Linked DNA regions of Homo sapiens: regions 1, 2, 3, 4, 5 and 7 are each linked to region 6. Evidence: promoter capture Hi-C in 16 types of primary human blood cells and fetal thymus (Javierre and others, 2016). All regions are on one chromosome and are shown on one strand. The core of a region is centred on a gene start or on the middle of the fragment in contact, and the rest is flanking DNA. Distances in the headings are between cores, read along the strand shown.

Region 1 (2,671 bases), core at 107-2,606, 740 kb before region 6:
AGTCAGTGAGATAATGCACATAAAGCACATAGCCAAGTGCCTGGCACCCAGTAAACACACAGCAAATGTACTATTGTCATCAACATCATCTTTGTGATGAGCAGGAATCTAGGGAGACAGAAAATGGGGATACAAGGGAGAGGTGAGATCTGAAATACATGCAGAATATGTCCAACTATGAATAGAAGCTGAGACTAATTTGAGTGGCTTCTGTCCTAGCCATGTTTTCATCACTGACATGCTGTGTGACCCATGGCAAATCTACACCTCTCCCTAGGCCACTGTCTGCCCATTCACACAGTAATGGGGCTGGATTAGCATGTTTCTGTGATTCTCTCCAAAAGGGACATGTATGTCTTTGCTCGATTCAAAGCTTCCCCATTGCGCCCATCCGCCAGCACTGCCCCTTCACCTTCTCCAGAGTGTAGCTTGCTCGTTCAATGATTTCTGGGAAATATTCATCATATTCTTGGATGACATCCCTCAGCATGTCTGTAGAAAAGGAGAGGTGAGAGTAGCTGAGCTTAGCAGGGGCCACAGAGCTGCAGCCCTTTTGCCAGTCCTGTTGGGTCAGTGCAATCAGAGACCTGAAGTGAGTTAATGGGAGATGCCAGCCATGGCAGAGTGCAAGGAGGGCAGGTGTGGAGATATGACAGAACAAAGAGGCCATAAAGTGTTACTCCCAGACTATGGGAGGAGAGGGGAGTGGAGAGGAGAGCTCAAGGAGGAGGGTTGGTAGGACACTACCTGAGCGTTTGATGGGGATCTTTGTCTGGTCCTTAACCAACAGGTATTTCACCAACTTATTAGCCTGGGAGGAGAGGAATAGATGGAGAGATCTTAACATGCTTGCAGAAAACTTGGAAGGAGGCAGAGAAGAGGGCAAGTGAAGAAGAGAAGAGACTGGACAGCATTGGATTCTTACCCTTTCTTGTAAAATGGCCACATCTCGCGGTGGTGCAGGCCTCCGGCCCCATGGGATCCGCCTGTAATTACTGCCACTTCTCTCATCCCCATTCAGATGCTTGGACTTCATCATCAGAAAGAAGGAAGGTCCAGAGTCACCAGGTGAAAGAGATGGCTCTGTCTCCTCACCTTGCCTGCTCCAGACAGAAAGTCCCTCTAACCCCCTCCCTCAGCCTTGCTGTAGTGGAGCCTGATCCTGACCTTGCCATTGGCCACCCTGAGTCCTGAGCTTATCTTTCACTGTCTTCCAGGAAGGAGTTTCGTTCCTCTGCCAGGCCAGGAACAACTCAAGATAAGAGCCTAAGGGTCTTTCTCTTCCTCTGGCTACCACCAATTATGCTGGCTGGTACCTCTTGGACAAGTCACTTCATTTCTCTGAGACTCAGTTTTCTTAAGTGTAAAACTGGGACCTATGATCCCTTGTTGGTAAGAGTTACTTTCAAGACATTCAGACATACCCTGTGTAACTGTACCCAACACAAAGCCTGGCACGTGGTAACTACTATTTAAATACAAGTAGTATTACATACAGGTTGTAGCTGAGTGTATGGATGTCTTATTTCCTCACCAATCTGTGAACTGCTAGGGAGCAGAAACTATATCACCTTCTTCTCAGCATCTTCCACAGCCTATCTGAACACAGGGACTAGCTCAAAGTAAAACTTTTATAGAAGAAATGAACAAACTAGAAGGGTAGAAATGGAAAAGAAGCACAAAGTTAAGGATGGCAATGTCAGAGATCTCACCTTTCGGTTTCTTTTGCCCCGGGTCCTGGTTGTGGGCTCCAGGCTCAACTGAGCCAGATAGTCATCTGCCAGGGCCTGGACAGCAGCAGCAACCTGAGTCTCAAGGGCACTTACGTTGGTCTGAGCAGAGGCTATCTTGGCCTGGGCCCCTTGGTCAGCATTTGGAGTCTGGCTTTCAGTTGCCCGAGCCTTAGTGGCAGCCTTCCGAGCCCTAGACCCTCTCTTGACCCGCAGGGTGGCTGCCAGGGCTTGGTTTGTGACTATCTGAGTGGCAAGTGGGGCCTCAGAGATCTCAGAGACAGAATTTGGGCCCCTGCTGGCAGCCTTCTTGCCCTTGGATTTTTTGGGCCTGATAGCCACTACTGAGGCCTCAATCTGCCTGGTAGCTGCGTCAGTGACATTTAGAGCCTCTATATGCTCAGTGTCAGTATTTATGACCTTAGCAATTGTCTTCCTGGCTTTGGAGGCTTTCTTGGTTCGGATGGAGGCTGCTGTGGTGTGGATACTGGCTGTCTCATTGGTAATTTGGCCTTGGGTGGTAGCTGTATGGGTGGCAGTTGCAGCCAGCGAGACCTCGGTGGCACTAGCTATGGCCTTATTTGCAGCCTTCTTAGCCTTGGAAGCTTTCTTAGGCTTGATAGAGGTTATCAAGGCTTGGGAACTGGCTGACTCATTGGCAATTGGAGCGTGAATATTCTGTGAGATGACTGGTAGCTTTAGGACCTGCAAGGGTGACTTCAGCTGTATAGTGCCACCCTCATGGCCAGTTGGGGATTGGGAGCCTTGGGCTGCCTTGGCAGTAACTCTCTTCATCTTGTTGGCTTTCTTAGGCTGAGCAGTGACTGAAGAAGCCTGAGTATTGGTTACCTCAGTGGTAGGTAAAGCCTGGCTGATCTGGGTAATGACTGGCAGGTTTAAAGCCTGCCAAGTTATTTTGGGCTTGTTGGTGGCAATCTCAT
Region 2 (3,767 bases), core at 1,246-3,745, 750 kb after region 6:
AAGTAACTTGTCCAGGGTCATTCGGCTAGTAAATAATAGAGCTGAGGCTGGGCGCGATGGCTCATGCCTGTAATCCCAACACTTTGGGAGGCTGAGGCAGGGCGGATCACCTGAGGTCAGGAGTTCAACACCAGACTGGCCAACATGGTAAAATCCCATCTCTACTAAAAATACAAAAATTAGCCAGGCGTGGTGGCCCATGCCTGTAATTTCAGCTACTCTGGAAGCTGAGGCAGGAGAATTGCTTGCACCCAGGAAGCGGAGGTTGCAGTGAGCCAAGATGCGCCACTGCACTCCAGCCTGGGCAGCGGGAGACTCCATCTCAAAAAAAAAAAAAAAAGCGGTAGAGGGGAAGAGATCCAAGACAACTCGAGAACATGGTCAGAGAGAGAAAAGATGGTGTGTAGATGCTGGGGAGGGCAGGAGGTTATTCCAGGGAATGACAAGTGCAATAAGGTGGCCTGGACAGGTGGTTAAAGTAGAGAGGAGGTGAAGGTTCCCGGAGTTGGGCAGGTGAAAGAATCATGAAACTGTGCCTGGAAATTCTTCCAAGATTAATTCATTAATTCATTTATTTCACACATTTGTTTTAAGTGTCTTGTACACGCCAAGCAGTGTTCTCGGCATTAGGTGAACCAGCTGGACAAGCCCCTGGTGCCATGGGGCTTACCTTCCAGCAGGGGGAGAACTACACAAACAAGGCCAGGTTAGCGGAGCATGCAGGCTCACAAGCCTGTAGGCACAATCCTGCAATGCCAAAACTTCTGAAAAGCATAAGGTTGTTTTTTCATACTTTGGAGCCCAAACTCAATAGATGACAAAACCTGACCTGAAGTAGTGTGAGGCTATTTATAGTCTTTATTCACACTTGGTGTGAATTTTCATACCTTTCACTTCAGAAATATTAATATTTCATTACGATGCTCCAGGCTTTTCTCAATAGTTATATAATATAGACTATACAAAAAGTTATGTTTGACTAGTTTTTTTAAAGAGTTATGTAATATAAATTACATGTCTTCCTTTCTCAAATTGAAAAAAACTCTGAATTCCACAGCACATCTGGCCCTAAGGTTGGAAAATGGATTACGGACATGCAAGTGCTATGAAGATAATTCAAATATGCAATGGGATAGTGTCTAGGTGGCTACAGTTTGAATATTTAGGGAGGACCCCTCTGGGAAGGTGATATTTAAGCTTAGTTCTGAATGAAAAAAAATAAAAGCAGTCATGCAAAGATCAGGGGAGAGCATTCCAAGCAGAGGGAGCAGCTAATGCAAAGATGAACACAAAGGAGGCCACTGTGGCTACAGCATATTGGGCCGGATGAAGAGTGCTATAAATTGATGGAAGCACTTCATGTAGATAGGAAAATTGTGAGACCGGTGTGCTAAATCCTTTGGTAAATACGGTGTAGTGATTATGAGTGTGGTGGCTGTCAACAACTAGAAGGCCTGGAGGGGAATCTTCCTGGGTGAGAAAGCAAGTGGGGGGAGATATTTCAGATAGAGAAAACATAAAGCAGTTCTGAGGCTGAAATGGTGGGCTAAGATTTATGGCCTGAAGACCTTGGTTTGAGGAAAAGTATAGAAGGAAGACAGATTAGATATCTGGGCTCAAGACTCTAATGACATAGCTTCTGGAAGCTGCCTGAAAGATGTTCTAGGATGACAAAGACCTGGGTCTTAAATAATAGTCTCTGGTTGAAGTCCAATCTGCAGTGTGTGATCTGGGCTTTTGGACTTAAATTAGACAAAGATAGAGGAGAGTAGCAAAGCCTGAACTGATGAAAGATGTTTTTGCCTCTTTAGGTTTGTGCTTCTCAGCAGCTGTCCTAGAATGTCTGTCTCCAAGCATCTCTCTTAGCGGCTTTCCACATTCATCTCTCTGTGATCCTACCTGGCATCTCTCTTCCTATCTCGGCCTCAACATATTTCTCTTTACATGGCTCTCTCTCTCTCTAACTCAGACTCCTCATCTTTGGATCTCCTTGTCTGAGTGTCCCAGAATCTGGTTCCGTCCATTCGTCTGTGTCTGTACTGTAATTCTCTTTCTCCACCTGGACTGTGCCCTCCTGGAAGGCATGAATCTTTTATTATTCCGCTGGGTATCCCAGGTGCCCCGCACACCGTCTAGCATATAGGAGTCTCAAATACATTCATACTTGAATTAAGACTTTTTCAGAGGAGAAAGGCATCCGTTCTCAATATCCACCCCTCTTCCCCCACGCGGAGCAGGCCACTTGCCAAAAGGCCAGCTAGAGAGTAGGGCGAGGGGTGTTGTGGTATTGTACTTCTGCTATTGGTCTCTTTCCCCAGTTGAAATAACTCTGGGGATACCTTAGCAGGCGGAATCCGCCCTCTGGCCAAAGGACTAGCGTACCAGGCCACGCCCCCACGTCTCATGCGGCAGCGGCAGACGCCCCGGCCCGTCGCATCCGCCCCTTCCGCCGCTTCGCCTCGGCCAATCAACGAGCGCCCGCGCCCCCATCCCCATCCCGTGGAGTGGCCGGCGACAAGATGGCAGCAGCGTGTCGGAGCGTGAAGGTAGAAGGTTCTTTGCCTCTGTTGCTTGCCTTCCTTTACGGGCCGGGACAGCGCGGCCGTGGAACTAGGAGAAAGAGATCGGTTTCGAGGGAAAGGGTCATGCTTATGTAGGCCTGGTATTGTGGCCGTTGGGCTCAAGAGGTGAAAGTCAGCACTCCGCGGCGCATCTGTCTGTCTGTCTGTCTGTCTATCTATCTATCTATCAATCATCTATCTATCTATCGTCACGGGACGGGCTGTCTGGGGATGAGATCCCTTCTGCCCCCGAGGTCCCAACGCTGAGGAGAAGCAGCACACCTAGTTTACCCGCAGGGGTGACCACGACCTCTCCCCTCCCCCCTTCTCCTCAGAAGCCTGGAGAACAGGCAGGCGACAGCGTGGGGATGGTCTGGGCAATGTAACAGCTGACCCTGACCATGTCCCTTTTGACAGGGCCTGGTGGCGGTAATAACCGGAGGAGCCTCGGGCCTGGGCCTGGCCACGGCGGAGCGACTTGTGGGGCAGGGAGCCTCTGCTGTGCTTCTGGACCTGCCCAACTCGGGTGGGGAGGCCCAAGCCAAGAAGTTAGGAAACAACTGCGTTTTCGCCCCAGCCGACGTAAGTGGGGTCACCTCTCCTCTCCCAGGGTGTGCATGAGGTCACCAACACCGGCCTGGGAACCTGTGGGGGTCCCTCCCATAAGGGTCTCCTCTATGGGGGCGGTAGACCCATCTCCTTGTCTCTTTTGGCCTGAGCCTTCAAGCACTGTGGGACCACCTGTGATAAGGATTCTCTAAAGCTGGGATTCACAACAATGAGGATGGGGATTGGACGTAACAATCTCCTGGAGGAGTTATGTATGGTTTGAAAATGCATTTTGTGCCTTGTAATTTTATATTTACAAAGTCAAAAAACTTGTTTTCATGAAACAAACTACAGAAAGTGAAACTTGATGAAATCATCTTAGCAGGTAAGGATACAAAAAAGCTAGTTTATCTTCCTATCAATAATTCTCACAAGAGGGTTATTTTTTATTTTTATTTTTGAGATGGAGTCTCGCTCTGTTGCCCAGGCTGGAGTGCAGTGGCACAATCTCAGCTCCTTGCAACCTCCATCTTCTGGGTTCAAGCGATTTTCCTGCCTCAACCTCCCAAGTAGCTGGGATTACAGGCACCTGCCACCACGCCCAGCTAATTTTTTTTTTTGTATTTTTAGAAGAGATGGGGTTTCACCATGTTGGCC
Region 3 (4,037 bases), core at 374-2,873, 800 kb before region 6:
ATCTAATCCTGGACTTTTCTTTCTGGCAAGGTTTTTCATTACTTATTCAACCCCTTGTTATAGATCTATTTAGATTTCATTTCTTTTTTAGTCAGTTTTGAGAGTTTGTATCATTCTAATAATTTATCTATTTCACCTAAGGCATTTATTGTGTTGGCATACAGTTTATGATTGTTCATAATATTCCCTTATAATTCTTTTTATTTTCATAAAGTCAGTAGTAATGTCTCCTCTTTTTTTCCTGAATTTATTAATTTGAGTTTTCTCTTTTTTTTCTTGGTCAGTCTCACTAAAGGTTTGTCAAGTTTATTAATTTTTTCAAATAACCAACTTTTGATTTTGTTGATTTTTTTCTAATGTTTTCCTAGTCTCTGTTTTATTATTTTCACCTCTAATCCTTATTATATCCTTCTTCTGTTTCCTTTAGGTTCCCATATTTGTGAATTTCCCAAAGTTCTCTCTGTTATTAATTTTTTATTTTACTCCATTATGATTGGAGAACATACTTTATATGATTTCCATTCTTCCAAATTTATTGAAGCTTCTTTTATGGCCTAGAATATTGTCTCTCTTGGAGCATGTTTGATGTACACTTTGGAAAAATGTATAGTCTGCTGTTTGGAGATGGAGTGTTTTACAGATGTTTGTTATTACTACTTTGTGTTGAAGTCCTCTATTTCCCTGTTGTTGATCTTCTATGTAGTTGTTCTATCCATTATTGAAAGAGTGGTCTTGAAGTTTCCAACTATTGTCAGTGGATTGTCTATTTCTCCCTTCAATTCTGCCAGTTTTGCTTCATGTATTTGGCAGCTCTGTTGTTTAGGCATATACGTTTATACTTGTGATATATTCATTATGGATTGACCCTTTTGTCATTATTGAATGTCCCTATATATCTCTAGTAATGTTTTTGAACATCCATTTTGTCTCATATTAGTATGGTCACTCCAAATTTCTTGTGGTTGTTGTTTGCATGATGTATTACTTACGTTATTTTACTTTTAATCTATTTGCTTCTTTCTCTTTTTTCTTCTTTCTTTTTTAGAATAGAGATGGAGTCTCACTATGTTGCCCAGGCTGGTCTCAAACTTCTGGACTCAAGGGATCCTCCCACCTTGGTTTCCCAAAGTGCTCGGATTATAGGCGTGAGCCACCAGGCCTGCCTTGTATCTTTCAGTCTAAAACCTATCTTCTGTAGGCAGCATGCAGTTGGATCTTGTTTGTTTGTATTCAGTTAGATATTCTCTACCTTTTGATTGGGTTGATTAATCTGTTCTGATTTAAAATCATTATTGATATAGTTGGTTTAAATATGCAGTTTTATTTTTCCATAGAGCTCATGTCTTTTTCTCTCTATTCTTCCTTTACTGCTTTCTTTTGCATTAAATGAATTATTCTAGTTTAACTTTTTAATTCATTTGATCATTTTTTATTATATATTTTTTAGGTATATTCTTCGTGGTTGTTCTAGGGCTTTTCACATACATCATACATCAGTGTGCTTCAGATTTGTACTAATTTAATTTCAATGAGATATAAAAATTTTACTCATATATAGCTCTCTTTCACCTTCCTTTTTGAGCTATTATAATATATATATTATATCTGTATATGCTAAAAACTAAATAATACATCATTATAAGTATTATTTTATATAATTTTATGTTTTAAGGAAGCTGAGAAAATTAAGGAGAACATGTATGTATTTATTATTTTCTATTATTTTCATTTGTTCCTGTGGGTTTGAATTACCTTCTGGTATCATTTCCTTATTTCTATATAACTCTTTGCTTTGTGACTTGGCTAGGCTATTTTTAAAGTATGTTTCCCTGCAGTGTGAACCCTTCAGTGTTGCTTCTTGGAGTGCATAGTTTTTGGCTTGCAGGTAATTTGGGCTTTCTTTGACTTTTTCCCAGTCTCTCTATTAAGCTGTCAGCCCACATGGGGGTATTACACTCTAGGCTCCACTAATTACTAGCTGAATGCTGTATTTTGTTTTTGTTTTTTGTTTGTTTGTTTGTTTGGCAGTGTCCTGAAGCATGCATTGCCCAGCAGCCTTATCTAATTAAACTCTAGCAGGAGTAGTTTGTGAAGTAAGTCTTGGAGGTTTCTTCATACCCCAGAAGGGCTCTTCTTACCTGTCCCTCTCTCTCTTGTTCTCTCTGATGAACAAGCTGGCCTATGTTGCTGTTAGTTAAGTGAACTTGTAGTTTTTGAGAACATCCTTGGGCTTGAGCTTCTTTGTACTATGTTAAAAATAAAGTTAGTTTTGGGGGGAGAGTTTCAGAGCTCTCTCATCTTATGAATTTCTTCTCTCCATGGGTATACTGTCTGAGCACTGTTCTGGGTGCTGGGCGAGACAGCAGCTTCTGGTCTTAGTTTGCCTATCCTGGTGTGGAACCTACCCTGTGAGCAAGATGGAATGAGGGTAATCAGGACCTCAGTATTCTTAGCCTATTGCACCTGGTATATAGCCTCCATTCTATGAGTAAAAACTGGGAGGAGGAAGGGATCCTCCAACCTCTTAACCACACTTGCCAGGAATTTAGCCTCTGCAATTCTGAGCTGAAGGGAATGCTAAATGCTAGCTCTCTGCTCCTTCCAGTAAGATGCCAAAGTATTGATGGGACATTCTCTCCAAGACGAAAGGGAGCTTCATCTTGGCTATACACACCTTAAGTGGAGCTTCTATCAAGCTAAGCTTGGAGCCAGTAGTGAGGGGACAGTAGTAAGGTCGGGAACAGTAGCATGGCACATGTATCAAAGACTGTGTTCTTACCACATTTCAGTAGATTTTCTTGAATAAAAATATCTTCATGTACTGTATTCCATTAAGACAATTTCCAGAGATTTTAAAAGGTTGTTGTGTTGTAATTTTGCCAGCTGAGCTTGTTTTATTAGAGAATGGGTCTTTAGAGCTCCTCATGCTGTCATGCCAGAAATGAAAGTCTCAAGATTGTCTTTGTGTGTTGATCTTGTATCTTGCAGCCTTGATGAACTCACTTGTTAGTTCGAGGAATTTCTGTAGTTTAGGGGGATATTTCTATGTAGACAATCATGACATTTGCAAATAGGGATTTTTTAAAAATTATTTTCCAAACCGTATGCCTTTTATTTCCTTTTATTGCCTTATTGCAGTGGTTAGAACTTCTAGTACTATGTCAAAAGAGTGGAGAAGGTGGAAATCCTTACATTAGTCCTGATGTTAGGGGGAAAGCATTTAGTCTTTCACTTTTAAGTATAATGTTGGTGATAGTTTTTGTTTGCTTTATAGAAGTTTCTTATCAAGTTGAACTTAAACAAATTTACAAGAAAAAAACAACCCTATTAAAAAGTGGGCAAAGGACATGAACAGACACTTTTCAAAAGAAGACACACATACAGCCAACAAGCATATGAAAAAATGCTCAACATCACTGATCATTAGGGAAATGCAAATCAAAGCCACAGTGAGATACCATCTCACACCAGTCAGAATGGCTATCATAAAAAAGTCAAAAAATAACAGATACTGGTGAGATTGCAGAAGAAAGTGAATGTTTATACACTGCTGGTGGGAATGTAAATTAGCTCAACCATGTGGAAAGCAGTGTAGTGATTCATCAAAGAGCTAAAAACAGAACTACCATTCAACCCAGCAATCCCATTACTGGGTATATACCCAAGGGGATATAAATCGTTCTATTATAAAGACACATGCAGACATATGTTCATTGCAGCACTATTCACAATACCAAAGACATGGAATCAACCTAAATGTCCATCAGTGATAGACTGGATAAAGAAAATGTAGTATGTGTATGCCGTGGAATACTATGCAGCCATAAAAAAGAATGACATCATGTCCTTTGCAGGGACATGGATGCTGGAGGCCATTATACTTAGCAACCTAAAAGGAACAGAAAACCAAATACTGCATGTTCTCCCTTGTAAGTGGGAGCTAAATGATGAGAACACATGGACATAGAGGGGAACAACACACATTTGAGACCTACCTGAGGGTGGAGGGTGGGAGAAGGGAAAAGATCAGGAAGAAT
Region 4 (4,051 bases), core at 960-3,459, 880 kb before region 6:
AATGTGATAAATCATATCAACAGAATGAAGGCCGAAAACCATATGATCATTTCAATTGATGCTGAAAAAGCATTTGGTAAAATTCAACATCCCTTCATGATAAAAACCCTCAAAAAACTGGATATAGAAGGAACATATCACAAGATAATAAAACTATATACAACAGGTCCATAGCTAGTATCATATTGAATGGGGAAAAACTGAAATCCTTTCCTCTAAGAACTGGAACAAGGATTCTCATTTTCACCACTGTTATTCAACATAGTACTGGAAGTCCTACCTAGAGCAATCAGACAAGAGAGAAATAAAGGACCTCTAAAAGGGGAAGGAAGGAGTCGAATCATCCTTGTTTGCAGAGATGTGATTTTATGTTTGGAAAAACCTAAAGGCTCCACGAGAAAACTAATAAACTGATAAACAAATTCAGGAAAATTTCAGGATACAAAATCAACATACAAAAATCAGTAGCATTTCTATATGCTAACAGCGAACAATCAGAAAAAGAAATTTTAAAAAGTAATCCCATTTACAATATACACAAAATACAATACTAGGAATTTGCTTAACCAAAGAAGTAAAAGATCTCTACAATAAAAACTATAAAACATTGATGCAAGAAATTAAATGTTAATGGATTGGGAAAATCAATATTTTTAAATGTCCATACTACCCAAAACAATCTACAGATTTGATGCAATCCCTATCAAAATACCAATGATATTCTTCATATAAATAGAAAAAAACTCTAAAATTTATATGGAACCACAAAAGACACAGAATAGCCAAAGCTATACTGAGCAAAAAGAACAAACATGGAAGAATCATATTACCTGACTTTAAATTACACTACAGAGCTATAGTAACCAAAACAACACAGTACTGGCATAAAAACAGACACACAGACCAATGGAACAGTATAGAAAACCCAGAGATAAATTCACACATCTACAGCAAACTCACTTTTGACTAAGTTCTCAAGAACATACACTAGTGAAAGGACAGTCTCTTTAATACATAGTGCTGTGAAAACTGGATATCCACATGCAAAAGAATGAAACTACACCCCTATCTCTCACCATATACAAAAATCAAATCAAAATGTATTAAAGACTTAAATTATAAGACCTCAGACTATGAAACCACCAAAGGAAAACATTGGGGAACCTCTCTAGGACACTGGACTGCACAAAGATTTCGTGAGCAATATCCCACAAGCACAGGCAACCAAAGCAAAAATGGACAAATTGAATTACATCAAGTTTAAAAGCTTCTGCACAGCAAAGGAAACAATCAACAAAGTGAAGCGGCAACCCACATAATGGGACAAACATTTGCAACTTACCCATCTGACAAGGAATTAATAATCAGAATACATAAGGAGCTCAAAGAACTCTATAGGAAATAAATCTAATCGTCTCATTTAAAAATGGGCAAAAGACCTGAATGGACATTTCTCAAAAGAAGACATACAAATAGCAAACAGGTATATGAAAAGATGCTCAATATAATTGATCATCAGAGAAATGCATATTAAAGCTACAATGAGATATCTTCTCAACCCAGTTAAAATGGCTTTTACCTGAAAGTCAGGCAATGATAAATGCTAGTGAGGATGTGGAGAAAAGGGAACTCCCCTGCACTGTTGGTGGCTATGTAAATTAGTACAACCATTATGGAGAACAGTTTGGAGGTTCCTCAAGAAAACTAAAAATAGAGCTACCATACGATCCAACAATCCTATTCCCAGGTATATACCCAAAAGAAAGAAAATCAGGATAACGAAGAGATATGTGCATTCCCATGTTTACAGCAGCACTATTCTCAATATCCAAGATTTGGAAGCAACCTAAGTGTCCATCAACATATGAATGGATAAGGAAAACGTGGTACTTATACACAATGGAGTACTATTCAGCCATAAAACGAATGAGATCCAGTCATTTGCAGCAACATGGATGGAACTGGAGGTCATTATGTTAAGTGAAATAAGCCAGTTACAGAAAGACAAACTTCACATGGTCTCACTTATTTGTGACAGCTAAAAATTAAAATAATTGAACTCATGGAGATAGAGTAGAAGGGTGGTAACCAGAGGCTAAGAAGTGTAGTGGTGAAGTGGCAGGGAACTGGGGATGGTTAATGGGCGCAAAAATATAGTTAGAAAGAATGAATAAGACCTAATATTTGCTAGCACAACAGGGTGACTACAGTCAATAATAATTTAATCATACATTTTAAAATAACTAAAAGAGTATAATTAGATTGTTTGTAACACAAAGGATAAATGCTTGAAGTGATGGATACCCCATTTACCCTGATGTGATTATTACACTTTGCATGCCTGTAACGAAATATCTCATGTAACCCACAAATACATATACCTACTATATACTCACAAAATTAAAAATAAAAAATATTTAAAAAGAACAATGGACACTAGGGTCTGTTTGAGAGTAGAGAGCAGGAGGAGGGTGAGGATTGAAAAACTACCTATCAGGTACTATGCTGATTACCTGGGTGACAAAATTATCTGTACGCCAACCCCTACGACGCATAACTTACCCATGTAACAAACCTACAAATGTACCCCTTGAACCTGAAATAGAAGTTGCAAAGAATAAGAAAAGAGAAACAGGTGTTACAAATCACTATTTTAAAAGAAATCATATGAAAATAAAGTAGCTCATTCCTTTATTCTTCTTTCTCTTATACATTATATTGTGATTTTATAGAATATTTGGAGCCCACTGGACTTTCACTAGCAGCTACCCTCTGTACACCCTTACCATCCCACAGTTCCTCTCTTTCAAATAAGAAGACCATGTGATTTACTAAATAATTTTAAAGTAATAATATAATATTTTGAGATGTTAATTTACATTTCTTTTTCTGTCTGAGTTTCCTTGTGTTCATTGCCTCCCTACTCCCAACAGTTGAACAGTAGTGATATATTTCTACATGTCTTAGCCTAGTCAGGAATAAATAGACACACTTTTCAATTTGGTTATTGAAAACTTACTGAAAATATAATTTACTAAAACAAAAAAAATACACACAAAAAAAACCAGAGATCAACTCAAAATGGATTAATGACTTAAATATAAGACCTAAAACTGTAAAAGTACTGAAAGAAAACATAGAGGAAAGCTTATTAGCATCTGTCCTGGCAAAGATTTTTGGGATATTACCCCAAAAGCATAGGCAACAAAAGCAAAAATAGACAAATGGATTGCATCAAAGTAAAAAGCTTTTGCATGGAAAAAGAAACAATCGAGTGAAGATGCAACCTGCACAATGAGAGAAAATATTTGCAAACTACATATCTGATAACGGGTTAATATCCAAAATATATAAGGAAATCAGACAACTCAATAGCAAGAAAATAAATAACCTGATTTAAAAATGGGCAAAGGACCTGAATAGATATTTTTCCAAAGGAGACATCCAAATTGCTGACAGTTACATAAAAATGTGCTCAATATCACTAATCATCAGAGAAACACAAATTAAAGCCACAATGATATATCACCTCACACCCATTAGAATATCTACCATCATTAAAAAACAAAAGATAACAAGTGTTGGGGGGATATTGAGCACTATTAGTGGGAATGTAAACCAGTTCAGCTATTATGAAAAACGGTAAGGAGATTCCTCAAAAAATTAAAAATAGAGTTATTGTATGATTCAGCCATTTCACTTTTAGCTATATACCCAAAGGAAGTAAAGTCACTATGTCAAAGACATACCTGCACTTCCATGTTCATTGCAGTATTATTCACAATAGCCAAGATATGGAATCAGCCTAAGTGTCCATCAATGAATCAATAGATAGGGAAAATGTGGAGTATACACACACAGAGACGGGCACACACAATGGAATACTATTCAGCTTTAAGAAGGAAGAAAATCCTTTCATTTGCAACAATCCACATAAACCTGGAGGACATTATGCTAAGCGAAGTAAACCAGACACAGAAAGGCAAATGCTGCATGATCTCATTTATATGTGGACTCTAAAAAAATCTAATTGATAGAAACTGAGAGTAGA
Region 5 (4,032 bases), core at 1,533-4,032, 960 kb after region 6:
CGACGATTTCCTACCGCCACCGGAGTGCCCGGTGTTCGAGCCTAGCTGGGCCGAGTTCCGAGACCCTCTTGGCTACATCGCGAAAATCAGGCCCATCGCAGAGAAATCGGGCATTTGCAAGATCCGCCCACCCGCGGTAAGCCCCGGGGCCGGTTTTCGCCGGCGGCGAGACGGAATGAAGCAGTAGGATAGCCAGCGGCGAAGTCTGGGGCGGAGGGCAGCTCGAGGTGGGGAGAGGGGGTGGCTGGGACCGTTGTGGTTGCGGCGCGGATCGGAAAAAGGGTGTTGGGCCAGGGGTCCTCTCGTGGTGTGAGGCCCACAGGTGACCTGGAGTCAGAGATCCACCCCCACCCCGGCCCTTCAGAATCACTCCGGGTTTAAGACAGGGATTCCTAGTGGGCCGGAGGGAGTTCACAGAGAGGCACCCCGCACATCTCTTAGCCCGGGCCACCTAGGTCGAGGCTGTAAAAATAAGACGTTTCTCCAATCTGTTGTCATCACTTCCTTTAAGGCAGGCAGCATAGTATAGTATTAATAGAAAGATCGCAGTCCTGAAGGGAGACAGACTTGAGTTCAAAACTCCACTTTGAAGCTGAGCAGCTGTGTGACCTTGGGAAAGTAGAAGTAATCTCTCTGAGCCCGTGAAATGGATCCCAGAAATGGTTATTTAGAGGATTGAATTAAACTAGGTAGCGTCTGTATGTAGTACGCACTAGATAAGTGGTAATTATTGTGACTGTGAGGGTGTTTGATGTGGTCATTGGTTTATTCCTATGTAGGTTGACTCATATTTACTCATACCTTGCCAGGCCAATTCATCTATGATAATATCCTGGCCTGCTGGACCAGTCAGGAAATCAGTCTCACAGGGATTGCTCTGTCTCCCTTGAGGTGGGTTCAGGGAATTGTCCTCTTCTTTTCCTCGTTGAAGGCAATGTCAAGGCCTTTTCTGCACATCATCCCGCAGACTTGACTTCCTATGGAGATGTTTGGACCGGTCAGCTTGGTGGTGGGGTGTGAGTCCTTCTCAGAAGATTTCTACTCTCCTCTGGTCCAGGATGTAGGAGATCCCAGAGGATAGGGCACTCTTGGGCCCGCAGAACAGAATGGAGCCATGGAATTCTGTCCCTTTTGGAACATGATTGCCAGGGGTCAGCAACAAAGGCCATAGCTTTCCTCCTAGGCCTGGCTTCAGGCTAGAAGTCTCCCAAGGGCTAGGGCAAGCTGCTGCCTTGCTGATATGGTGGAAAAGTGATGATAATGTTCAGTGATCAGTTGGGATTCCAAGGGCAGAAATTGAGCTTTGCTGGAAAAGGGTGTTTTTGAGTGGGTGTCTCCTGGCTGAAATGGAATAGGAAGCTTCATTCCCACCTGAGGAGGGCACCACAGGCCTCCTTATCCAACTTGGTGCTTTCTGGTGCTCAGCCACAGATCTAGGATGGTTTCAGATAGATCCTCTAGGAGGTGTTGGGTAAGCGAATTTCTTCCTTCTTGGAGTCTGGCCACAGATTTCTGAGGTATCCTTGTCCATGGTGAGGGAGTGGCAGTGGGTAGAGGGTCAGGAAGGCTAGTGGAAGGGAGAGGCAGGAGTCCTGGGCAGCCTCAAGGAGGCACTCCCTGAAGTGGTTGGGCAAGCCTGTGGGAAAAAGAGGCATAGCTGACGTAGGGGGTAGTTGAGGCCTGAATTCCTTTTTTCTATCTTGGACTGACTTAGGCAGGCTGGCCTTGTGTAGGTGTTGTTACCCTGCTTTGGGGCATCAGGAAGGGGAAGAGTGACATGTCCCAGGTGTGCATGGCCAGCAGGAGGCCGTCCTTTTCACTGCTCAACAGTGTGCTTCTCTCTAATCCAGGATACCTGGCTCTCTGGTTTGGTTTTGTTTTTTCCTTCTCTATGGCAGCTCCTAGGCCACCTTTAGGCAGCTGGCCTTCTTCTGGTTGAAGTTTGAAGTACTCGCTCAAGTGATGCTTGGGCCCAGGGTGGGAACCTGTATATGGGTGGGTACCTGGGAATTGGAGGTTTGCTGGAGGAAGGATGGTTTGGGGCCTGAATTGCTGGGCAGGTGACTGCTACGCTTGGGAAAGATGGGTGGGAGGAGAGTGTGGGTACCCTGAGTAGACCCAGTGGAGTTTGGAAGGATCTTGCTTTCTTCATCAGGTAGCCAGCCTTTTTTTTATCACCACATCCCAGTAATACCAACATACATTTGGCATACAGTAGTCTGGAGATGAAGGCAGGCGGTTTGCAGGGCCTTCCCAGGTATCTGTTGCATCCATGGCTCCTGCCGTAGCATTCCAGGGCTGCCATTTCCTGTCAGGTGCTTGATGTTGCACTGATTGTCTAGAACTTGATTCAGCAGGAAAGAAGGGTGCCCGGAGTTTTGGGTTTGAGCACCTTTTTAGCTGGGTTACCTGTGCTGAGGGGAGTGCCCTATCCTGATGAGAGGCAAGAGGGCATGGGGAGCTTGTCTGGATTTGAGCCATACCATTTTGGCCTGCCTGTTTTTTTTTTTTTTTGTCCCTGCTTACTGAGCCCCAGATGTTTGCCACCTGCTTTGGCTGGTAGGGGCAGGGGAGTGTGGTCTGTGTATGCATGCAAAATATGAGTCCTCTAGCCCATTTTCTAAAAGTGTGTGTGCAGAAGAGGTCAACAGTTTTTCTTCTCTTTCACTGTCTCTCCCCCCCGCCCACGTGTATGCATGTATGTATGAACATTGATGTCTGGTGTAGTGCAAAGGCCTTGGATCAGAGGTCAGAAGACGTGGGTTCTTGGCCCCACCACTAACTCAGCATGTAATTTTGGAAATTTCACTTTTTTTCTCTGAGCCTCACTTTCCCCATTTATAAAATGAGAACATTGGTTTAGGTTACTTTAGGTTGATTTCACCACCCCAGCAGGAGCCAGGGCTCTGGGAAGGAGAGGTCTGCATAGGAGGTTGGAAAGGGGTGTTGGAGAGGGGGTTCTTCACAGCTGACCTTTGGGCAGGACACAGCAAGCTCCAACTTGGCAGAGCAGAGTGTCTCCCACTTTCATGATCTTTCCCTGACTTCCCTCCCCAAATCCTCCCATTCTTTGCCACCACAGTCAGGCATCCCAGCACTTACCCCCACCCCCTGGGGCTTCCTCCCCTGCCTCTTCCTGTACCAGGCAGGTGTATGAGAGAGGATCTACAGGAAGCCTTCCAGACTGGGTGAGTGATACACATACTTGCTCCCTGTTCCTTGCTCTTCCCTGCAGTGTCTATCTCAGGCCCTTTAAACTGAGAGAACAAACATTAAAGGCCCAAACCTTTACGTCCTGCCACAATCGGACCTGAGCTACCCTGCATGTGTATTGTGAGGTGTGGTCAGCCTTAGATGTCAGGTCATAACGGTGACTCCTTTGAATAACATTTTCATTTGAAAACTAGTTTTAATTTTCCATATTGGTCTGGCAAGGAAGCCAGGGCTAGAGTTCATATTCCCACCTCACAGATGAGAAAACAGGTTCAGAAAGCTAAAATCTCATAGCTAGTAAGTAGCGGATCTAGAACATGAACCCATATCTTCTGACTCTAGATCCTGTGTGCTTTCCAGTACTCCCAGGCCTGTGTGTCCTACAGCACGTGCCTAGGGGATAAGGAATTAATGTGGGTGTGGAGAAGGTTTAGGGTCAACAAAACAGAGGCTCCATCTCTTAATTTCTTGAAATCCTGGCACTGTACTGTTGGGTGGGACTCAGGAGAAGTTTCCTAGGGCATGTGCATGGGGCCTTGGGTGCAGACTTGAGGGGCTGCTAGACTCTTGTGAGTTCTGGGGGGAGGTGGGGGTGGGTGGTTGGGTAGGATGTTTGCAGGTTAAAGGGTCTGGAGTGGCTAGAGGTTTGGGAAGGTGCCAGTGGGATTCCGAGCTGCTTTTGGTGACTTCCGGTCTTACACTATGCTGAGATAACTCAAGTCCCTTTCCCCTCTCTACCCTCTCAGGACTGGCAGCCACCCTTTGCTGTGGAAGTGGACAACTTCAGGTTTACCCCCCGAATCCAGAGGCTGAATGAGC
Region 6 (4,018 bases), core at 1,263-3,762:
TCATCACATTTAGGAGCGCTGGAGAACAAGGAGTACTACTTAGGAGGCAGATATAGATAACTTCGTTCCAATTGCCTTGATGCCAGTTTCCTAACTGGTGAAACCTTTGAGACAAAATTGAGATTCTGCTGTAATTCAGCAAGGCCAATGAATATCTGACCCTCAGCAAATGCAGATCTCTTGTTATAAGCAAAAGGGGCTGCTGTTTTGAGTCCCAAGAGCAATAAGCAAATGCTTCACTGCCAAATAACACAGAATGCCAACTTCCTTCCTATCAACTGATGCAGAGGTCTCTGATCTCTATCTGTTCTACATTTTAGGGTCTCTACAAAAAATAAAATTATTCAGGCATGGTGGCATGTGTCTGTAGTCCCAAGCTACTCAGGAGGCTGAGGCTGAAGTCGAGGCTGCAGCGAGCTGTAATCACACCACTGCATTATCTGGAAGCTGGGAATTGAACACAATGAAGACTCTATTTCTCACCTTTGTTCTTCTCTGAAAGTCTGCATTTTTTCTCTCTTTCTGCAGACCAGCATCTTTCACTTCTGTCCCTCTGGTGGGAAAATTGGTTGACAGCTTCCAAGCTTTACACTTAGAGAAAAGCTGGTATCTCTTGTCTAATTGCAAATTTCTAGAAAATGAGATTTTGATTGCCCCAGGTTGGATTAGCTGCCCACCTCTGACCCAATAAGCTATGGTTATAGGAACACGACAGTTTTTGCCATAACCCTATAAATGGGGGAAGGTGGAGGGTCAATTCCCGGAAAAGAGGGGCTGGGCAGACCGTCCCACACGTGTCCATTATACTAAAAAACCTCCATTCCTTCCATCCTTCATCCCTTCAAGCCACTGCTCTCTCCTTTCACTGCTTGCTTTCAAGAGTTAACTATGTACACTGCCTTGCCATCTACTTATTCTTTGACAATCTGGCTTGTTCCATCTCCACTATTTTATAATTTCTTTTATGTAGCTTGAAGCTTTTTTGCTTTTGCATCCTAATAGAGTATTCCCCTATCTCATTCATCCCGATCACTCTTGGGTTCTGCACTTCTGCATTCTAACTCTGCCTGCCATTATCTCCCATCTTCCAGTAAGTTCCAAGCCAGATCTGGCTACTACTCATTTCAGATCTTGTTTTCTGCTTTATTCCTGCTGAAAGAGTGGGCCGGCCCTAAAAGCCAGAAAGAAGACAGGCACTGCATCTGTTTCATCTCAGTATGTTGAAAATACATTTTTCAAAAGATTATGACTCCATACATCTGAAATTAGAGCCCTTGCAGCTATTTAGAAAAGCTCCCGACAGACTAAAACACAATGAAGTTTGGAAACCAAAGGCCCTAACCATAGGACATAGTGGATCTAGGAGTACCAAAAAGGTACAATTTGTAATGTAATTTGTGTTGGTAATTATCTCCCTGCCCAAAGAGATGCTGAGGGCAAGGATATTCGATTTAACTTTGTCTCTGCATTGCCTTAGGCAAGTAAATAATGTAAGTTTCTTTTTATTTATTTATTTATTTTTGAGACGGAGTCTGGCTCTGTCACCAGGCTGGAGTACGGTGACATGATTTTGGCTCACTGCAACCTCCGCCTCCCAGGTTCAAGCGATTCTCCTGCCTCAGCTTCCCCAGTAGCTGGGATTACAGGCACGTGCCACCACGCCCGGCTACTTTTTGTATTTTTAGTAGAGACGGGGTTTCACCATGTTGGCCAGGATGGTCTCGATCTCCTAACCTCGTGATCTGCCCGCCTCGGAGGGATTACAGGCGTGAGCCACCGCGCCCGACCAGTTACGTCTTTCTTAATTGGGACCAACAGCTCTTTAAATATTATCTTTCCACTAAGGGGAAAATCCTCCCTCCTGGGGAGTTTTAGCTCACTTTAGCTGAATTCAGTCAATCCACTCTAACTTCCATTCCCATGATGCATCAATCCATCCCCCAAAACTCTTTTTCCAGGAAAAAGCAGTAAATAACCTAAGCAACTCAGTGAGATGCAAGGAGTTGGAGTGCAACTCCTAAACACTCATCATCACGCCCCGCTTCCTGTGACCCTGTGAGCACAAGGGCTGAGAAGGGTGGTAGTCTGGTTCCTCGACTATATCCTAAGGCCATAGAGAAGACTACAACTACCAAGATGCCCCTCTCCCCGCCCCGCCCCGCCCCTCCTCGCTCCCCTTCCTCCAGCTAGAAAGCGTGTACCACCGAGAAGACGAGGCAACATGGCTCCCGGAGGTGGAAGAAAGAGGCTTCACCCCTTCTAAAGCGGGAAGAAGAGCGGCCGGAAAGGAGAAAAAAGAGAAGTGACTAGAGCCCATCCTCGCTTTTATCCTCCCAGCCTCTCCCGGGTCCGGTCTGCCCCTCCCCTTCTCTCTACCCAAATCCAATTTGTGGTCTCCTCCCCTCCCCGCCCTCATTCCCTCGCTTCCTCACCCCTCCCCTCGGGAATCCTTTTCCCGCCCCCCCTCGCCCCCCGCGGAGTGCGCACGCGCCCGCCCCCAGCTTCGCGCCCAGATCGTCGCCTATCCTGCTTGCGCAGCCGCTATCGCGTCTGCCCACCGACGAAGCATGGGTGTCCAGGGCTTCCAAGAGTTCCTGGAGAAGCGCTGTCCCGGGGCCGTGGTGCCCGTGGACCTCCTAAAACTCGCGCGCACGGTCTCGCGCCAGCAGCAGCAGCAGCACTTGCACCGCCAGCTGCCGCCGACTGCAGCCCTAGCGCCCGGGGCTCCACGCGCCGCCAGGGGCTCCGTGCCTCTGCAACCGCCGCTTCCGCCCGCTGCCTTGGGTGCCTACTCCGGGGGCGCGGGGCCGACTCGGCACCATCACCCCGCTCACCACTTCCACCATCATGGCCAAGCGCAGCCCGGGCTGCACCCTCCGCTGCCGCCGCCGCCGCCCCCTCAGCTGCCCGGGGCCCGGGTGCTGGTGGACGCCGGCTCGGCGCTGCCGCGGCTCTATGGCGGCTACCAGACGGATTGGGTGTGTGGCGGCCAATGGAACGCCATGCTGGGCTACTTGTCAGCGCTGTGCCAGGCTTGTGCCTATCCTGGCGGCGACGGCCTGGAGCTCGTGGTCATGTTCCCGGGGGGCCTGGGCAAGGACCGGCTGGCCGAGTGGGGCCGTCGGTGCCAGGCCGAGCGGCAGACAGCGCAACTGATCGTGGGACACGTGGGCAACAAGGGCACCCCTCCACCGCGGGCCTGGTTCCTGCCACCGGCCTGCCTGAGCCACTGCGTGAGGCTAGCACTCATCCGCTTCCGGGTCAAGGTGAGGGAGGGGCCGGATCTTAAATAATAAGCCCCACACCTATTCCCTCCCAACTAAATACCTAACCACCTACCCACTTACCCACTACCCTACCTCCCATCTACCCACCCACCTACCCGCCCAACAGCTAACCTACCTGCCTAACTACCCTCTACCATTTTATCCATTTACCTCCCCCTTCATACCACCCCCTACGGATTCACTCACCTACATGGCCATATCTCTACTCATGTCATCCCAGTAGCTCCCTTTAGCTTCCCTTATCCAATTGGCCTACCACTAGGTTTCAGCAGAATCTAGTCAGAATTTCTTTTGTAGCCTCATCTTTCTCCTGGTGTCTTCTGCCTCAAACTGAAATGCCTTTACCCTGCTTTTGCCAGTTGACATCTCTCTCCTGTATCTCTTTCCAACCTCGCAGTAAATCACTTAAGCAGGTGTGAACTGAACACCTTTCTTCTACATTGTTTTTCCGTCTTCACCCACTGCTGCTTTTTTACCCATCTGTGTCCATTCAGCCTTTTTCATTTCAACATGCATCTTCTTCCTCCTGCCTTAGCCTAAACACATAAAAACCCACTGATTCAGTCACTGTTCAGCAAGTATTAACTCACTGAGTGTAAGGGTTTTAAAGACATGTGAGACACTGCTCATGCCCTTGGAAAGTTAAATGTATACACATGAAACATTTAATTATAGCAATGTGTATGTGATTATGCCTTATGGTCCAGACAGTAAGTACAGTTCCTGTTTTC
Region 7 (3,676 bases), core at 921-3,420, 980 kb before region 6:
TCTAGTGACAGTGCCATCTGTGGTATTCGGATTTGATCCGTTTTACACATATTCCAAAATATTTTCAAGCATGAATATTTATTCTTACCAACTTTCCTGTAAGTACTCGGAGGAGTCCAATGCAATTAAATATGCATATTTGATGTTACATCTTACTGGGCAATAATTCTACTGCATTTATAATCAGACTAACAGACGTTACACTTGAGGTATATGTCACCATCATGCTTACATAAATGATACATTGACCAAGACATAGAATGAAAGATTCTGAGATATTGACATTTTTTTAAATGACCTTGAGAAATACACAATCATGGAATACTTGGAAAAATTCTCCCTTTGAAACTGATGCAGGATAGGCCAGCCCCAAAATTGAAGCTTAGCCTGAGAGGGCTCTTGGCTTTGCCCAGGAGAGATTTCAAGTGTGAGCTGGTAGTGTCAGACAGCAATCTTTTATTGAATGGAACTCCTCCTTGCAGAGCAGGGCTAACTCATAGGCACTACACTCAGAGTCACCAACTTATGGGGTCTTTGCAAACGCATTTCTATTGACTTATACCCACTTTCAATTATATGTACATTAAGGGCAGGTTAATGCAAGTTGAGGGGCGAGATATTTAGAACTTTCTATGAAAGGGGGTAACTTCCAGGCCATTGCCATGGGAAGCTGTTGTAACTTCCAGGTCATTGCCATGGCATTTGTAAACTGCGATGGTGCTGGTGGGAGTGTCTCATGCTAATAAGCAATAAGGGCAACCAGGGATCACCCTTGTGGCCATCTGCTGGTTTCTGCCAGTTTATCCACTTTATTCTGTCTGAATCAGATTCTGTTTTAGTCAGCAGGGTTATGACCAGAAACAAGTCCTGCCAGTCTCCTACCTCAGATATATGTTTCTGTATCATTTAAGCCCTGGGACAAGTTTCTCAGACTGAAAACATGGTTTGGTAAAGCTGGATGCTTTCTTAAGGGGATAGGGTAAGATCAGAAAATAATCCACACTTTTCAATCTGCGAGTAAATAAATTAAATAATGGATGAAAATGTATTTCTTAATGTGATGCAGAATGGTAGATATTAGATTAATACAGGGTCATGAATTTTTCTTTAACAGGCTTGGCAATAAATATTTTAGTCTTTGTGGGCCACATAGATTATGTGGCATATTGTTGTGTTTTTTAAAAATAAGAGTTTAAAATGTAAAAAAAAAAAAGTCCTTATCTTAAAGGCTATGCAAAAATGAGCCATGGGCTGGATTTAGCTACCAAGCCATAGTCAGCTATCCCCTGGATTATCTTTTAATTCAAATATTTGAATGCTGCATTTTTGTACCAGTAGTCAAAATATTAACAAAGGAGAGCTCTACCTCCACATAATATTTAGAAAGGCTCAAGAGAAAGTCACTTTAGCCCTGAAAATGAGAAAAAGCCTAATAACCTATATTATCATTTTTTTTTAGATCATGAGAGAGCTGAGGTAATAAGGCAGCCATGGGAACTGATACAAGAGGATGACAAGCCCCTCTGAGGAGAGATGACACACACAAACTGTGTTACCTCTGGCAGAACATGTGTGCAAGAAGTGACAGTCATAAAAGTGGGTAAGAAGGAAACAACTGAAATGTAATAAATTCATAAAGTTCAAACGTAGGCAGCTGAGAGAGCTGGAATCCCTAGAAGTCTCTGACATAAGTAGAATCCACGTTCACAGACAGATGAGACCCTGTCTCAAATAAAAAAATAGTCAAACAGTATAAGGCTAAATAAAAAAATCAAGAACAAAAATAACAGATGCTGGTGAGTTTATGGAGAAAAGGCAATGCTTATACACTATTGGTGGAAGTGTAAATTATTTCAGCCACTGTGGAAAGGAGTGTGGCAATTCCTCAAAAAGCTAAAAGCAGAACTGCCATTTGACCCAGAATCCCATTACTAGGTATATAAAGACACATGCACAAGTATGTTCATTGAAGCACTATTCACAATAAAAAAGACAGAATCAACCTAAATGCCTGTCAATAGTAGACTGGATAAAGACAATGTGGTACATATACACCATGGAATACTATGCGTCTATAAGAAAAAGAGAGACATCATGACCTTTGCAGCAACATGGATGGAGTTGGAGGTGATTATCATTAGCAAACTAATGTAGGAACAGAAAACCAAATGCCACATTTACTCACTTATAAGTGGGAGCTAAATGATCAGAACACATGGACACATAGCAAGGACCAACACACTGGGGCCCATCAGAGGGTGGAGGGTAGGAGGAGGGAGAGGATATGGAAAAATAACTGATGGACGCTAGGCTTAATACCTGAGTGTCAAAATTATCTGTACAACAAAACCCTGTGACACGCATTTACCTGTATTACAAACCTGCACATGTACTCCTCAACCCAAAATAAAAGTTTCAAAAAAACTCACAAAATTTATGAAATATTCTGATATTTCTACTGAGAAGAAATAAATTCACTTATTTTTTGTACAAAGAAGGAAGAAAGGAAGAAGGAAGGGAGGGAGGGAGGGAGGGAAAGAGGAAGGAAGGAGGAGAAGAAAACAGAGAAAAATAGGGCTGAACAAATGTGTCTGTCTCTACCCAAACAGCTCTTGATGAGAAGGCACTTTGAGCAACTTGAGTGAGAAGTAACATAAATCAGAGGATGTATTAGTCTGTTCTCATGATGCTGATAAAGACAAACCTGAGACTGGGAAATTTACAAAAAAGAAAAAAAACAAAAAGAGGTTTAATGGAGAACTCACAGTTCCACATGGCTGGGGAGGCCTCACAATCATGGTGGAAGGCAAGGAGGAGCAAGTCACGTCTTACACGGATGGCAACAGACAAAGGGAGGGAGGTTGTACAGGGAAACTCCCCCTTATAGAACCATCAGATCTTGTGAGACCCACTCTCTATCGTGAGAACAGCATGGGAAAGACCTGCCCCCATGATTCAATCACCTCCCACCGAGTCCCTTCCACAGGGTGGGGACACCACCAAACCATATCAGAAGATCTCAATCATCTCCATTTACAGCCTTTCAAAAGTTATTCTGGCTGTTGTTTCTGAGCAATTCAAAACTTCCCTGGGGCCCAATGAATCCATGTATTCTCCTGAAGGGCATCTTTTACCTGGATTAACAGCACAGCTGAGAACCAACACAGACCGGTTAGTTTAGGAAGAAAAAGAAAAGAAAAATACAGTAGACCAACATTTCCCTCCCCCATGATATTGTTCTCTTTTCACTTTTTCCATTCAATGTAGAGAAGGATATTTGAATCCCAAAATTTCTAAGCTGAGAGACCTCTGAAACATTATCCTATACAGCCATTTTCAAAATATTTTTAGCAACAGAACACTTTTGTGAAATGAAATTTCATCTAAAAGCCTACTGCAGAAAATGGGGTGATAAAGTAATATTTTTCATATAAATGTATCACTTTAGTTTCAAGTTATCTTTCTATAAAGGCTGTCAGTAAATTTGATTGAGGTTCTTTTGAGGAACCTAACAAATTATTCTGTGGATTTCTGCATAACACTTCAGTTCCATATTAACTTCTACATCTGATTTTTTGGTGTTTTTACTGTTACCGTTTCACGGCTGCAAGAAGATCTTGATTTTCACAATATATTTATCGCTAATCTGTATCTTGGGAAAAAGAGAACCTCACTT

Evidence for each region. Contacts are between HindIII fragments. The CHiCAGO score rates a contact against its expected background, and 5 or more counts as called.
Region 1: a fragment that was not itself captured here is called in contact with the fragment with the promoter of FAM120C in region 6 in 1 of 17 cell types (fetal thymus); the score reaches 6.6 in fetal thymus.
Region 2: a contact is called between the fragment with the promoter of HSD17B10 here and the fragment with the promoter of FAM120C in region 6, in 8 of 17 cell types (non-activated CD4 T cells, fetal thymus, naive B cells and 5 more). The highest score is 8.3, in non-activated CD4 T cells.
Region 3: a contact is called between a fragment that was not itself captured here and the fragment with the promoter of FAM120C in region 6, in 2 of 17 cell types (fetal thymus and naive B cells). The highest score is 6.0, in fetal thymus.
Region 4: a fragment that was not itself captured here is called in contact with the fragment with the promoter of FAM120C in region 6 in 3 of 17 cell types (monocytes, fetal thymus and total B cells); the score reaches 6.8 in monocytes.
Region 5: a fragment that was not itself captured here is called in contact with the fragment with the promoter of FAM120C in region 6 in 3 of 17 cell types (fetal thymus, monocytes and non-activated CD4 T cells); the score reaches 5.8 in fetal thymus.
Region 7: a fragment that was not itself captured here is called in contact with the fragment with the promoter of FAM120C in region 6 in 1 of 17 cell types (total CD8 T cells); the score reaches 5.5 in total CD8 T cells.

Annotation. Positions count from the first base shown.
Region 1 is chrX:54,922,810-54,925,480 of GRCh38, reverse strand. It overlaps TRO (trophinin), which reads right to left. Exons shown (of 13, transcript NM_001039705.3): 3 at 1,713-2,671; 4 at 926-1,030; 5 at 748-811; 6 at 413-492. Among named protein-coding and RNA genes, the nearest start is that of SNORA11G, 3.2 kb to the left of the region's middle. The HindIII fragment of the contact is 1,962 bases long and covers 376-2,337 here.
Region 2 is chrX:53,433,098-53,436,864 of GRCh38, reverse strand. It overlaps HSD17B10 (hydroxysteroid 17-beta dehydrogenase 10), which reads left to right and starts at 2,495. Exons shown (of 6, transcript NM_004493.3): 1 at 2,495-2,546; 2 at 2,979-3,143. The coding sequence starts at 2,520. The HindIII fragment of the contact is 11,572 bases long and covers 1,200-3,767 here.
Region 3 is chrX:54,983,298-54,987,334 of GRCh38, reverse strand. All of the region lies in intron 1 of PFKFB1 (6-phosphofructo-2-kinase/fructose-2,6-biphosphatase 1), which reads left to right. Among named protein-coding and RNA genes, the nearest start is that of PFKFB1, 8.9 kb to the left of the region's middle. The HindIII fragment of the contact is 2,160 bases long and covers 544-2,703 here.
Region 4 is chrX:55,059,807-55,063,857 of GRCh38, reverse strand. It overlaps a transcript of PAGE2B not described here. Among named protein-coding and RNA genes, the nearest start is that of PAGE2B, 13 kb to the left of the region's middle. The HindIII fragment of the contact is 1,880 bases long and covers 1,270-3,149 here.
Region 5 is chrX:53,220,844-53,224,875 of GRCh38, reverse strand. It overlaps KDM5C (lysine demethylase 5C), which reads left to right. Exons shown (of 26, transcript NM_004187.5): 1 at 1-136; 2 at 3,960-4,032. Among named protein-coding and RNA genes, the nearest start is that of KDM5C, 2.3 kb to the left of the region's middle. RefSeq lists an enhancer at 28-127. The HindIII fragment of the contact is 2,841 bases long and covers 1,362-4,032 here.
Region 6 is chrX:54,181,748-54,185,765 of GRCh38, reverse strand. It overlaps FAM120C (family with sequence similarity 120 member C), which reads left to right and starts at 2,512. Exons shown (of 16, transcript NM_017848.6): 1 at 2,512-3,266. The coding sequence starts at 2,568. RefSeq lists silencers at 2,080-2,179, 2,750-2,959, 2,970-3,019. The HindIII fragment of the contact is 3,156 bases long and covers 980-4,018 here.
Region 7 is chrX:55,164,389-55,168,064 of GRCh38, reverse strand. No RefSeq gene overlaps it. Among named protein-coding and RNA genes, the nearest start is that of VCF2, 5.0 kb to the right of the region's middle. The HindIII fragment of the contact is 3,574 bases long and covers 384-3,676 here.